Linked DNA regions of Homo sapiens: all the other regions are linked to region 1. Evidence: promoter capture Hi-C in 16 types of primary human blood cells and fetal thymus (Javierre and others, 2016). All regions are on one chromosome and are shown on one strand. The core of a region is centred on a gene start or on the middle of the fragment in contact, and the rest is flanking DNA. Distances in the headings are between cores, read along the strand shown. Region 1 holds the start of CDK3 (cyclin dependent kinase 3). Region 2 overlaps FBF1 (Fas binding factor 1). Region 3 overlaps FBF1 (Fas binding factor 1).

Region 1 (3,097 bases), core at 598-3,097:
GCCTCGAATGGGAGCATCAGTGGACCCCACCCAACCCCAGTAGGACCCTGCCTGTGGCACCCTGTGGCCATGTGTGCCCCTCTCTCTACCATCTCTGCAAAGATGCAACCAATGCTCCAGATATCCACAGCTGTGGTATAGAACTTGCTGCCCAAGAGAATCTCGGGGGCGCGATACCACAGTGTCACCACCTGCAGGGCAAAGAAACAGTATCACTCAGGGTGGCTGAGTGCATGGGTGACACTCCTCCTGCTGCCCCTCTCTCCTCTTTGTCTCACAATACCTCATGGGTGTAGGTGCGCAGGGGCACCCCGAAGGCGCGAGCCAGGCCGAAGTCAGCCAGCTTGATGGCACCCAACTCATTGATGAGCAGGTTCTGGGGCTTCAGGTCTCGGTGGATGACCCGATGTGAGTGGCAGAAACTCACCCCCTGCAGCAGCTGGAAGAGGTAGCTCTGGAGAAACGAGCGCGAGGTGCAGCCAGCTGAGCGGAGGTGCTGCGTGGACAGGGATGGCAGGGATGGGGTGTCACCTCTCCTTCCCTGCCCTTCCTTCCCTACCTTGATGAGGTGCAGGGGGAGCTCTGAGCCTGGGGTGGAGTCCATGTACTTCTTCAGGTCCTGGCTGAGGAACTCAAACACCAGATAGAGCTTCCTCTCGTTGTGCACCACGTCCAGCAGTCTGACAGGGAGATGGCAGTCAGGATGCTACCTTCGCCATCCCAGCTTCCCCACCTCAATCCCCAACTCACCGGACGATGTTGGGGTGCTTCAGTTCCTTGAGCAGCGAGATCTCCCTGATGGCAGTGCTTGGGACCCCCTCCATCTCCCTGCAAGAAACAAGGGCACAGCCGTGGGCAGAGACTTGGGCCAAGAAGGGCACTTCCAGCCAGGGGGATCGGCTTCTCCTTAACCCCACAGAATGACCAGGGCCCCGGCAATGGAGACCTGTGCTCCTTGGCACGTCATCCACCAAACTCCACAGTCAGGGCCCCGGCAAAGGCTGGTCAGAAGGCAGTGAACTGGGGAGAGGACAGGTAAGGGCTGCTGGGCAGCACCCAGAGGAGTTAAACGTGGACTCCAGGAAAGAGGGAACGGATCAGGGAGCGCCCAGGTTGTGATGGCCCAGGGTGGGTAACTCAGGGGCCGTCCCAGCACTCACAAATCCAGTCTGATCTTCTTCAGGGCCACCAGCTGCCCTGTCTCCCTGTTCTTGGCCTTGTACACCACCCCATAGGTGCCCTCTCCGATCTTCTCTACCTTCTGGAACATATCCATGGCCACAGAGCTGCCTGGGAAACAGAAGGCACCGGGCAATTTGCACCCCACGCCCAGCGCTCCCGTTGCTCCTCCAGCTTCCATGTGGCGCCCTGCCCAGCCCAGCCCAGCCCAGACTGCCCAGCTCCCAAGGCCCACGGCCTAGCCACCCCAACCCCAGCTCATCCTGCCTGGGAACCTGGCTGGGGGTCGGAAACCGCCCCTCACCCAGCCCAGCCCGGACCCCAAGGGGGTCAGGGGGCCCCCTTCACCCAGCCCAGTTCAGCCAGGACCCCCAGGCTTCTCGCCCATGCCCGGCCTCGGAGGGCAGGGCCCACACTCTCCCACCCAGCCCCCTGCCCATCCCAGCCAGAACCCCCAGGAAGTCAGAGACCACCCCTCGCCCAGCCCAGCCCAACATGGACCCCCAGGCCTCTCACTTGTGCCGGGCCTTAGAGGGCAAGACCACCCTTTCCCACCTGGGTCACTGCCCAGCCCAGCCAGTCCCAGGCTCTGGGTACACATGGCGGCCAGGAAGGGCTGCCCAGGGGCCAGGGCCACTGGGGGCAGAGGTCAGGGGTCAGGAGGGTCTTAAAGCCACAGTCCTGTCTTAGGCTGCACGGTCAGGGCCCAGGGCCTCAGCCCGGCCCGTGTGACGACGCTCAGCCTCCTCTGAAGGCAGAGCCTGGCCAGGGGCAGACCCCTGCATCCTGGGCCCCCCACCCCAGCCCCTGGGCCCCTGGTGCCCTACCCTGAGGCCCCAGGCCCAGAATTCACCAGAAGCCCTGAGAGGCTGCAGCCCACAGCCTGGGTTGCAGCTCCCCCTCCTGGCCCCCGCCGGCGCTGCACCACGAGCACACTTCAAGAGCACGCCCCCTGGGCCTTTATTCACCAGGACCTTCTGGAACCCTCCATGGCCCCACACCAAGCACGGCCCCGGCGCCCAAGCTCGGCCACCTGCAGTCTCCTGGGGTGGGGCTGTCGGATTTATGGCATGCTTTCTGGGTTCTCATTGCTGAGCCAATCCCAAAGTAGGGGAAGGGGCTGGATTCATCACCCGCCCCTCGGCTTTCGAGCTCCAGACAAGGCCGTCGCTGGGGAGGCGTCTGTGCTCTCCCGGGCTCCTGCAGCTCCAGAGGGTTCGGGCTCTGAAGCAGGTGAGGGTGTTGCTAGGCTGCTGTTTCCTACTGGCTGCCGCCCCGCTCCTGCTTGTACAGTCTCTGCTCCCGGATGGCTTGTTCCAACAAGGGCAGGTTCATCCCCTCCACACAGGTCAGCACGCGCGCCTTCACCACGGAGCCTCTGTCTGCAAGACAAACACCAGGGCACGAACGGCGACTGAGCGGCGTGTCAACAACGTCCTCCAAGGTGCATTCCAGCTGTTCCCTCCACAGCTCAGTCCTGGGTTTTGGCAGCAAGTGATGTGGACAATAACAGCATATGGGGCAAAGGCAACTGAGTATTTGGGCCTAGAACCGTGGGCCTGTCATGCACAGTCGGCCCGTGTCTGGAACTTAGCAGGTGGTCAGAAAACCCCTCTGGACTGAGGGAAAGGCCCCCTTGGCACCTTGGGACACAATGTCATCAGGAACCGGGGAAAAGAGACACCCATATTTTAAAAATCCAAGAGACTGAGCTCCCGGTAAGTTTGGCTTTATAGGAGCAGGTCATCCCACCCTGGACGAGGGGGGCTTCTAGCAGATGCGGTGGTGACCTGATACATAATGGAAAGGTTTGCCACTATTCAGGTGGCACCAAACAGGAAAGACATCTCCGAGAGACTTTTTAAAAATTTTCTTTCTTTTGACAGGTGAACTGGCTCACACCTGTAATCTCAGCACT
Region 2 (3,377 bases), core at 443-2,942, 72 kb after region 1:
CGCCCAGGCTGGAATGCAGTAGTGCGATCTTGGCTCACTGCAATCTCCGCCTCCTGGTTCAAGCGATTCTCCTGCCTCAGCCTCTTGAGTAGCTGGGATTACAGGCACCCACCACCACGCCTGGCTGATTTTTGTATTTTTAGTAGAGATGGGGTTTCACCCTGTTGGTCAGGCTGGTCTCAAACTCCTAACCTCTTGATCCACCCACATCGGCCTCTCAAAGTACTGTGATTACAGGCTGACCCACCGTGCCCAGCCAAAGAAAATAATTTTTGTATTTTTAGTAGGTAATTTTGTATTTTTAGTAGAGACGGGGTTTCACCACATTGGCCAGGCTGGCCTCAAACTCCTGACCTCAAGTGATCTACCCGCCTCGGCCTCCCAAAGTGCTGGGATTACAGGCGTGAGCCACTGTAAATAATGCCCAAGGGCTGCCGAGTGGACCCAAAGCAGAATCCTCTTTCCTGTAGTAAGATGAGTGGAAAGGAGAGCTCCCTGAAACTGCTAGAGTCTTAGATGTTGCTCCTTTCCCCTTATAAACTCCATAGCTGTCCATTGGCATGGGTGGGAAGTAGCAGAATTTCAGTCCTGGATGGAAGAGTTCTCTATGGTTGGAAGGAGTAGGAATGGCAGTGCTCTCTGAGTCTCTAAAACCAGGCAGGTTTGGCTTCAAACAACTGCCAAGCCCAAGCAAGGGGAACAAAGCCACCCTCCTGTGTAAGCTCCATTGGCCAAGCTCTGCTCCTGCCGCGCCGTCTGCCCTAACAGAAGCAAGGGGCCAGGACCCTGAGTTTTATTGGGCCTTGACTAATGTGCCTCCTCATCTGTGTCCTCACCCTCATTGTGGACTTAGGTTTCAGGTATCTCAGAGGCAGACCCACAGGCTCTGCTCCAGGCCATGAAGGTAAGGAAACAGCTTGCACGATTCTTAGAACTGGGGGTGGGTGGGGTGGGGTCATGATATTTTGTACCAAAGCTTCATTCTCCTTCTAATTTCTCCCTTTACAACCTGTGTTTCTGAGCCCTTCCTCGTGCAAGCATGGAACTCGTCTGTGAGCCGTTGGCCTCCTTGCCTTTCTGAGTATCAACCAGTGTTCCTGGTATATAGAGAGTGGAGAGTGCCACAGGCCTCTGGGGAAACGGGGCCAGCTCTACTCGGAGGCCCACCTAGCTGGGTCCCCTCACCTCCACCTAGAAGACAGAGGGGGAGACTCTTTCCTCTAATGCTTGTTCTTAATCTTTCTCCATATTTCTCTCCACATCCCCTGCCAAGCCCCCTTCAATACTGCTGTCTTCTCATCAGATCAAGCCCAGCGCCAATCTTTGCAATGGATTTTTAAGGCACAGATTCTGAATAATTTGTAAGGACATAATCTCTAGCTTGGCCTAAGACACCTTGTTCTCCCTCTCCTTCCAGCCAGCAGCACCTTCCTGTCTGACCCTTGGGGTTTTGTGTCCCTTTTAGTTAACCCATTTTGCCACAGTCCCTAGGACAAAGCCGCGTTTTTGGTTACAGCCCTGTGGGGCTCTTGTTTTTGTTGTGTATTTTTGTTTTTTGGGTTTTTTTTTAGAGACACCATCGCATTCTATCACCCAGGCTGGAGTGCAGTGGTGTGATCTCATTGCAACCTTAAACTCCTGGCCTTAAGCGATTCTCTTACCTTGGCCTCCCAAAATACTGTAATTACAGGCATGAGGCACCACACCCGGTCCAGATTCAGCTTCTTTAATCTCATCTTGAAATCTTTCTCCTCAAAGGCCAGGCACCTGTAATCCCAGAACTTTGGGAGGCCGAGGCAGTAGGCTCGCTTGAGCCTAGGAGTTGGAGGCTGCAATGAGCTATGATCACACCACTGCACTACAGCCTGGGTGGTGACAGAGTGAGACTCTGTCTTCAAAAAAAAAAAAAAAGTCTGGCATGGTGGCTTACTCCTGTAATGCCAGCACTTTGGGAGGCCATGGCAGGTGGATCACTTGAGCTCAGAAGTTGGAGGCTGCAATGAGCTATGATCGCACCACTTCACTCCAGCCTGGGTGACAGAGTGAGACTCTGTCTTTATTTTATTTTATTTTTAATTTATTTTTATTTTTTTGAGACGGAGTCTTGCTCTGTTGCCTAGGCTGGAGTGCAGTGGCATGATCTCGGCTCACTGCAACCTCCACCTCCCAGGTTCAAGCGATTCTCCTACCTCAGCCTCCCAAGTAGCTGGGATTACAGGCGTGCACCACCACACCCAACTAATTTTTGTATTTTTTGTAGAGACAGGGTTTCATCATGTTGGCCAGGATGGTCTCGATTTCTTGACCTGGTGATCCACCTGCCTCGGCCCAAAGTGCTGGGATTCTAGGCATGAGCCACCGCGCCCGGCCAATATCCTGTCTAAAAAAAGAAAAAAAAGAAAGCTTTTTTCCCGAGACCAGCCACCTAGGATCCCTGGGCATAACCCACAAGTCCTCTGACTCAATTTTTGGTGCTGACTTTGAGTCTCTCATCCCAGAACCATGAGCTGGACTCCATTCCACCTCCCCCTGCTTACCTTTAGTTCCATTTTCTTTCTTCACTCACTGTTTTTCTCAACAGTTTTCTCATTTTCCTTTGTTTTCTCACAATTCTACACCTGGGGTGCCAACAGCCCATCTCTCTCAGGTGGAAGTCCTCAGCCCCTTATCAGACATAGTCCTCTGCCCTCCCTCCCTGGTTTTCTAGGACCTGGACGGCATGGATGCTGATATCTTAGGTCTGAAGAAATCTAATTCAGCCCCTAGCAAAAAAGCTGCAAAGGACCCTGGGAAAGGAGAGCTGCCCAACCACCCCAAGCCTGCAGGTGGGTCAGTAGCCAGTGAGAAAGGTGCATGGGAGACGGCTCCTCGCATCTGCTAGGGAGACTTTGAGGACGTGGAAGATGCTAGTAGGAAGCGTTCATGTCCTTGGGTTTTCTCTGCACAGGATGGAGAGGCCAAGGAGCATTTGTGCGTGTGTGTGTTTGAGTGTGTGTGGTGGGGTAAGGGGACAGCTTGAGTTTCCTCCCTTCCTCGAGCTGTTCCAGGCCCTCTGGGTCCAACATGGGCAGCTCCTGGAGAAGCTGTGTGAGTTAAAATGGAGAACTCTATGGCAGCCTGTGCCTCTCCTGAACCCATGTCTCTGGAGTGACTCATGATGAGGAAGCAGAGGTAGCTCCTACCTCGTTTCCCTGCCAGAAGCCCATGGCAGAACTGGAGACTCCTCCCTTGGCTGTGCCCATGGCCATGAGCCCCCAGCTTCCCAGGAAGAAGTGCACCCCATCCCAGGGGCCCCAGTCCATGATATGGGAGGAGGACTTTGGCCAGGAGAGACTCAGGCCCATGACCTTGTCTTCTGCTTCCTGCAGGGGGTGCCA
Region 3 (3,165 bases), core at 70-2,569, 90 kb after region 1:
AGGACCAGGTGCGTGGCTCACACCTGTAATCCCAGCACTTTGGGAGGCTATGGTGGGAGGATTACTTGAGCCCAGGAGTTCGTGGCCAGCTTGGGCAACATAGTGAGACCTCGTCTCCACAAAAAAATAGCTGAGCGTGGTGGCATACACCTGTACTCCCAGCTACTCCGGAGGCTGAGGTAAGAGGATCACTTAAGCCCGGGAGGTCGAGGCTGCAGTGAGCCACAACGGTGCCACTGCACTCCAGGCAACAGAGCGAGACTCTGTCTCAAAAAAATAAATATTAAAAATTTAAAAATTAGCTGGGCATGGTGGGGCATATCTATAGTCCCAGCTACTTGGGAGGCTGAGGTGGGAGGATTGCTTGAGCCCAGCTGGTCGAGGCTACAGGTGTGTTCACACCACTGCACTTCAGCTTGGGTGACAGAGCAAGGCACTTGTCTCAAACTAAACAAAACAAAACTATAATGATAACAGTTGTCATTATGGAGCATTTCCTGTGTGCCAACCTCAATGCCGAAGGCTTTGTTTATATTTTACTTATTTATTTATATTTAGAAATGGGGTCTCACGATGTTGCCTCGGCTGGTCTCAAAGTCCTGGGCTCAAGTGATCCTACCCCCTTGGCCTGCGGATTAGCTAGGATTACAGGCATGAGCCACTGTGCCTGGCCTGCTTTGTGTATTTTTTAAGCTTTTACCCTCACACAGCCCTGCAAGGAAGGGCTACAAGGAATGTTTACAGACAAGGAAACTGAGGCTTAGAGACATGAAGTCATGTGCTCGTAAGTTCCACAGCAAACAAGTAACCTTGCCAGGATTGAGACTGTGGTCTGTCTCACTCCATACCTGGGCTCTTTCATGGCCCCTGCTGACTCCCAGAGCCAGGCAGAGTCAGGGACGATGTGGGGAGGGGCCTCAGTGACGGCTGGCTCAGCTAGCATCCAGGGCTCCACCTCCCTCTCAGCTCAGGGAAGGTGACCGCCCATCCAAACCTGCCTTGCAGGACCGTGACTTCTTGGAGAATGAACAGTTCTTCCTGGAGACCCTGAAGAAAGGGTCCTACAATTTGACATCTCATTCAGCCTGAGTGGGACCCCAGCCGATTCCCCAACAGAGGGTTCGGACCCCAGAACTGTCCTGTTCCTCCGGCTGCCTCCATGGAGGCAGTGCCTGGGGAGGATTCTGAGATGCTTGAGGCCTGATGACAGCTCTTCCGTGGACAGGGTGCAAGTGCATCCTTTCCAAATGTGCCAGCCCGGGGCAGCCCCTGCCTCTGGGGCTCTGTGGTGTAGGCTATCTTACCATGGCTTTGGCTGCCCTGCCCCAAAGCCATTGGCTTGGATCTGAGGGTCTGAGTTGGCAGCAAGGACCCCCAGCTCTCACTGGGCTCTGTGGGCTCCCCCTGGGCTCTGTGGGCTCCCCCTGCTCCACAGGTAGACTGTTGTGGGCTCTTTTTGCCTGGGCCTCTTCTGAGGCAGGAGCTTTCTTGAGGGATGCCACAAACAGCCTTCCCTACTCCCTGCCAGAGCAGTTCCCTCCCTGATGAGCTGGAGAAGGGCCCTCTGGCCTCCTGACAGTACAGGGAGGGCACCAGCTAGATCCTCCCTTGTGGTGTGAGATGTTCCTGGAACTCAGCCAGGCCCTCCTCCTCCTGGGCTTGCCCAGAGCCCCCACCCTATTCCCAGCATTGCCCGAAGGACCAACCAGTTTGGGTGAACAGTGGCCTCCTCAGCTTCCTCCCCATCTGGGTGCCCCACCGGCGGCGGAGGGAGCTGTGGCGATGGTGGGGTGTGGGGAGGGACGAGGAGGGAAGCCTCTGTGCTGCTCACCTGCCCAAAGCCCAGCTCAGCGGGTACGCAGTGGAGGCGACAAGGAACCAATCACAACTACAGAGGTTTCTCTGATCCTCCTCCACTCCCGCTGCTTCAACTTGACTAAGCTTAAAAAAACTGCTTTTGCCATGGCTCATCGGAGTTTATACTTATTTCTTAGAAAATGTTTCCTGTTATTTGCTGGACAAGTCCCAAAGAACAGGCAGATGTTCTTATTAAAAGATCAGCCTATAAGATTGGTCAGGACCAGGCGCCTCTGGCCACGTGCCTCTCCCCTCCAGCACCTGCGGTCTGCGGTGGCACCTGGCAGCTGGACCACAGCCAGGAGAAGGGTACTATTAGCCCTGCTTCAAACATGCAGAAACTGAGGCCCGGGGAGATTAAATAACCTGCCTGAAATGACAGTGAGTAGCTGCGCCTGGATTTGAGTTCTGCTCTGGCCAATCCCCAAGCTCCACGCTGTCAGCCACCCCGCTCTCCTACCTCCCAGAGGAGCAGGCTACACTCCTGGTAGGTGCTGGTGTGGGAGGAAGATCTTTTCAGGCGCTTCTGGGGCTGGTACCAACACTGAGGAGGGAAGTATCACATGCCCCATTGGAAGCCTTGGTTAAGTCTCAAATTTGATTCTCCACAAAAGAGACTCAACCAGTCCTGAGGCAGACCTGTGCAAAGAGCTGGGGGGGTCTAAGGATGGGCACGTCGGCCCAGGGGCAGCTGGTATCTAGGCAGCCACCTGCAGGACCTGCAGGTGATCAAGCACATACATCGGGGAGGGCGGTGCTGGGAGACCCACAGGGGGAGAGCATGGCCTTCAAGACAGAGTAGGGAGAAGAGGTTAGAATGAGAGGGCTTTGCATATCTTGTTAAAGACGTGCAACTTTTCAGGGCAAATTTGTCTGAGGGCAAATTTTCAGGTCTTCACTAGAAGATTTTAAACAAGGTTGAACCATATTTGTATTTTAGAAAACCCATTGGCCAGGCACGGTGGTTCACGCCTGTAGTCCTAACACTTTGGGAGGCCAAGGTGGGTGGATCACTTGAAATCAGGAGTTCAAAACCAGCCTGGCCAACATGGTGAAACTCTGTTTCTACTAAAAATACAAAAAAACTAGCTGGGCATGGTGGTGTGTGCCTGTAATCCCAGCTACTTAGGAGGCTGAGGCAGGAGGATCGCTTGAACCCGGGAGGCACAGGTTGCAGAGAGCCGAGATTGCACCACTGCACTCCAGCCTAGGCGAGAGAGCAAGACTCCGTCTCAAAAAAAAAACAACAACAAAAGAAAACCCATTGTGTCTGCAGGGTGGGGACCGGACCAGAGGGGGCAAGAGTGG

The links. Contacts are between HindIII fragments. The CHiCAGO score rates a contact against its expected background, and 5 or more counts as called.
Region 2: a fragment that was not itself captured here is called in contact with the fragment with the promoter of CDK3 in region 1 in 2 of 17 cell types (erythroblasts and endothelial precursors); the score reaches 8.6 in erythroblasts.
Region 3: a contact is called between a fragment that was not itself captured here and the fragment with the promoter of CDK3 in region 1, in 6 of 17 cell types (endothelial precursors, erythroblasts, neutrophils and 3 more). The highest score is 12.8, in endothelial precursors.

What each region holds. Positions count from the first base shown.
Region 1 is chr17:75,999,605-76,002,701 of GRCh38, reverse strand. CDK3 (cyclin dependent kinase 3) reads right to left here and starts at 1,847. Exons shown (of 8, transcript NM_001258.4): 1 at 1,735-1,847; 2 at 1,161-1,290; 3 at 751-828; 4 at 560-680; 5 at 284-454; 6 at 90-191. The coding sequence starts at 1,276. TEN1 (TEN1 subunit of CST complex) reads right to left here. Exons shown (of 4, transcript NM_001113324.3): 4 at 2,116-2,561. The coding sequence ends at 2,440. TEN1-CDK3 (TEN1-CDK3 readthrough (NMD candidate)) reads right to left here. Exons shown (of 10, transcript NR_037709.1): 4 at 1,161-2,561; 5 at 751-828; 6 at 560-680; 7 at 284-454; 8 at 90-191. LOC124904061 (a long non-coding RNA gene) reads left to right here and starts at 2,142. Exons shown (of 2, transcript XR_007065911.1): 1 at 2,142-2,897; 2 at 3,066-3,097. RefSeq lists a silencer at 1,961-2,040 and an enhancer at 2,171-2,220. The HindIII fragment of the contact is 39,600 bases long and covers 1-3,097 here.
Region 2 is chr17:75,927,524-75,930,900 of GRCh38, reverse strand. FBF1 (Fas binding factor 1) reads left to right here. Exons shown (of 30, transcript NM_001319193.2): 7 at 854-904; 8 at 2,708-2,825; 9 at 3,369-3,377. Among named protein-coding and RNA genes, the nearest start is that of FBF1, 12 kb to the left of the region's middle. The HindIII fragment of the contact is 1,427 bases long and covers 979-2,405 here.
Region 3 is chr17:75,908,647-75,911,811 of GRCh38, reverse strand. FBF1 (Fas binding factor 1) reads left to right here. Exons shown (of 30, transcript NM_001319193.2): 30 at 1,006-2,238. The coding sequence ends at 1,089. Among named protein-coding and RNA genes, the nearest start is that of MRPL38, 5.3 kb to the right of the region's middle. RefSeq lists a silencer at 789-949. The HindIII fragment of the contact is 1,248 bases long and covers 696-1,943 here.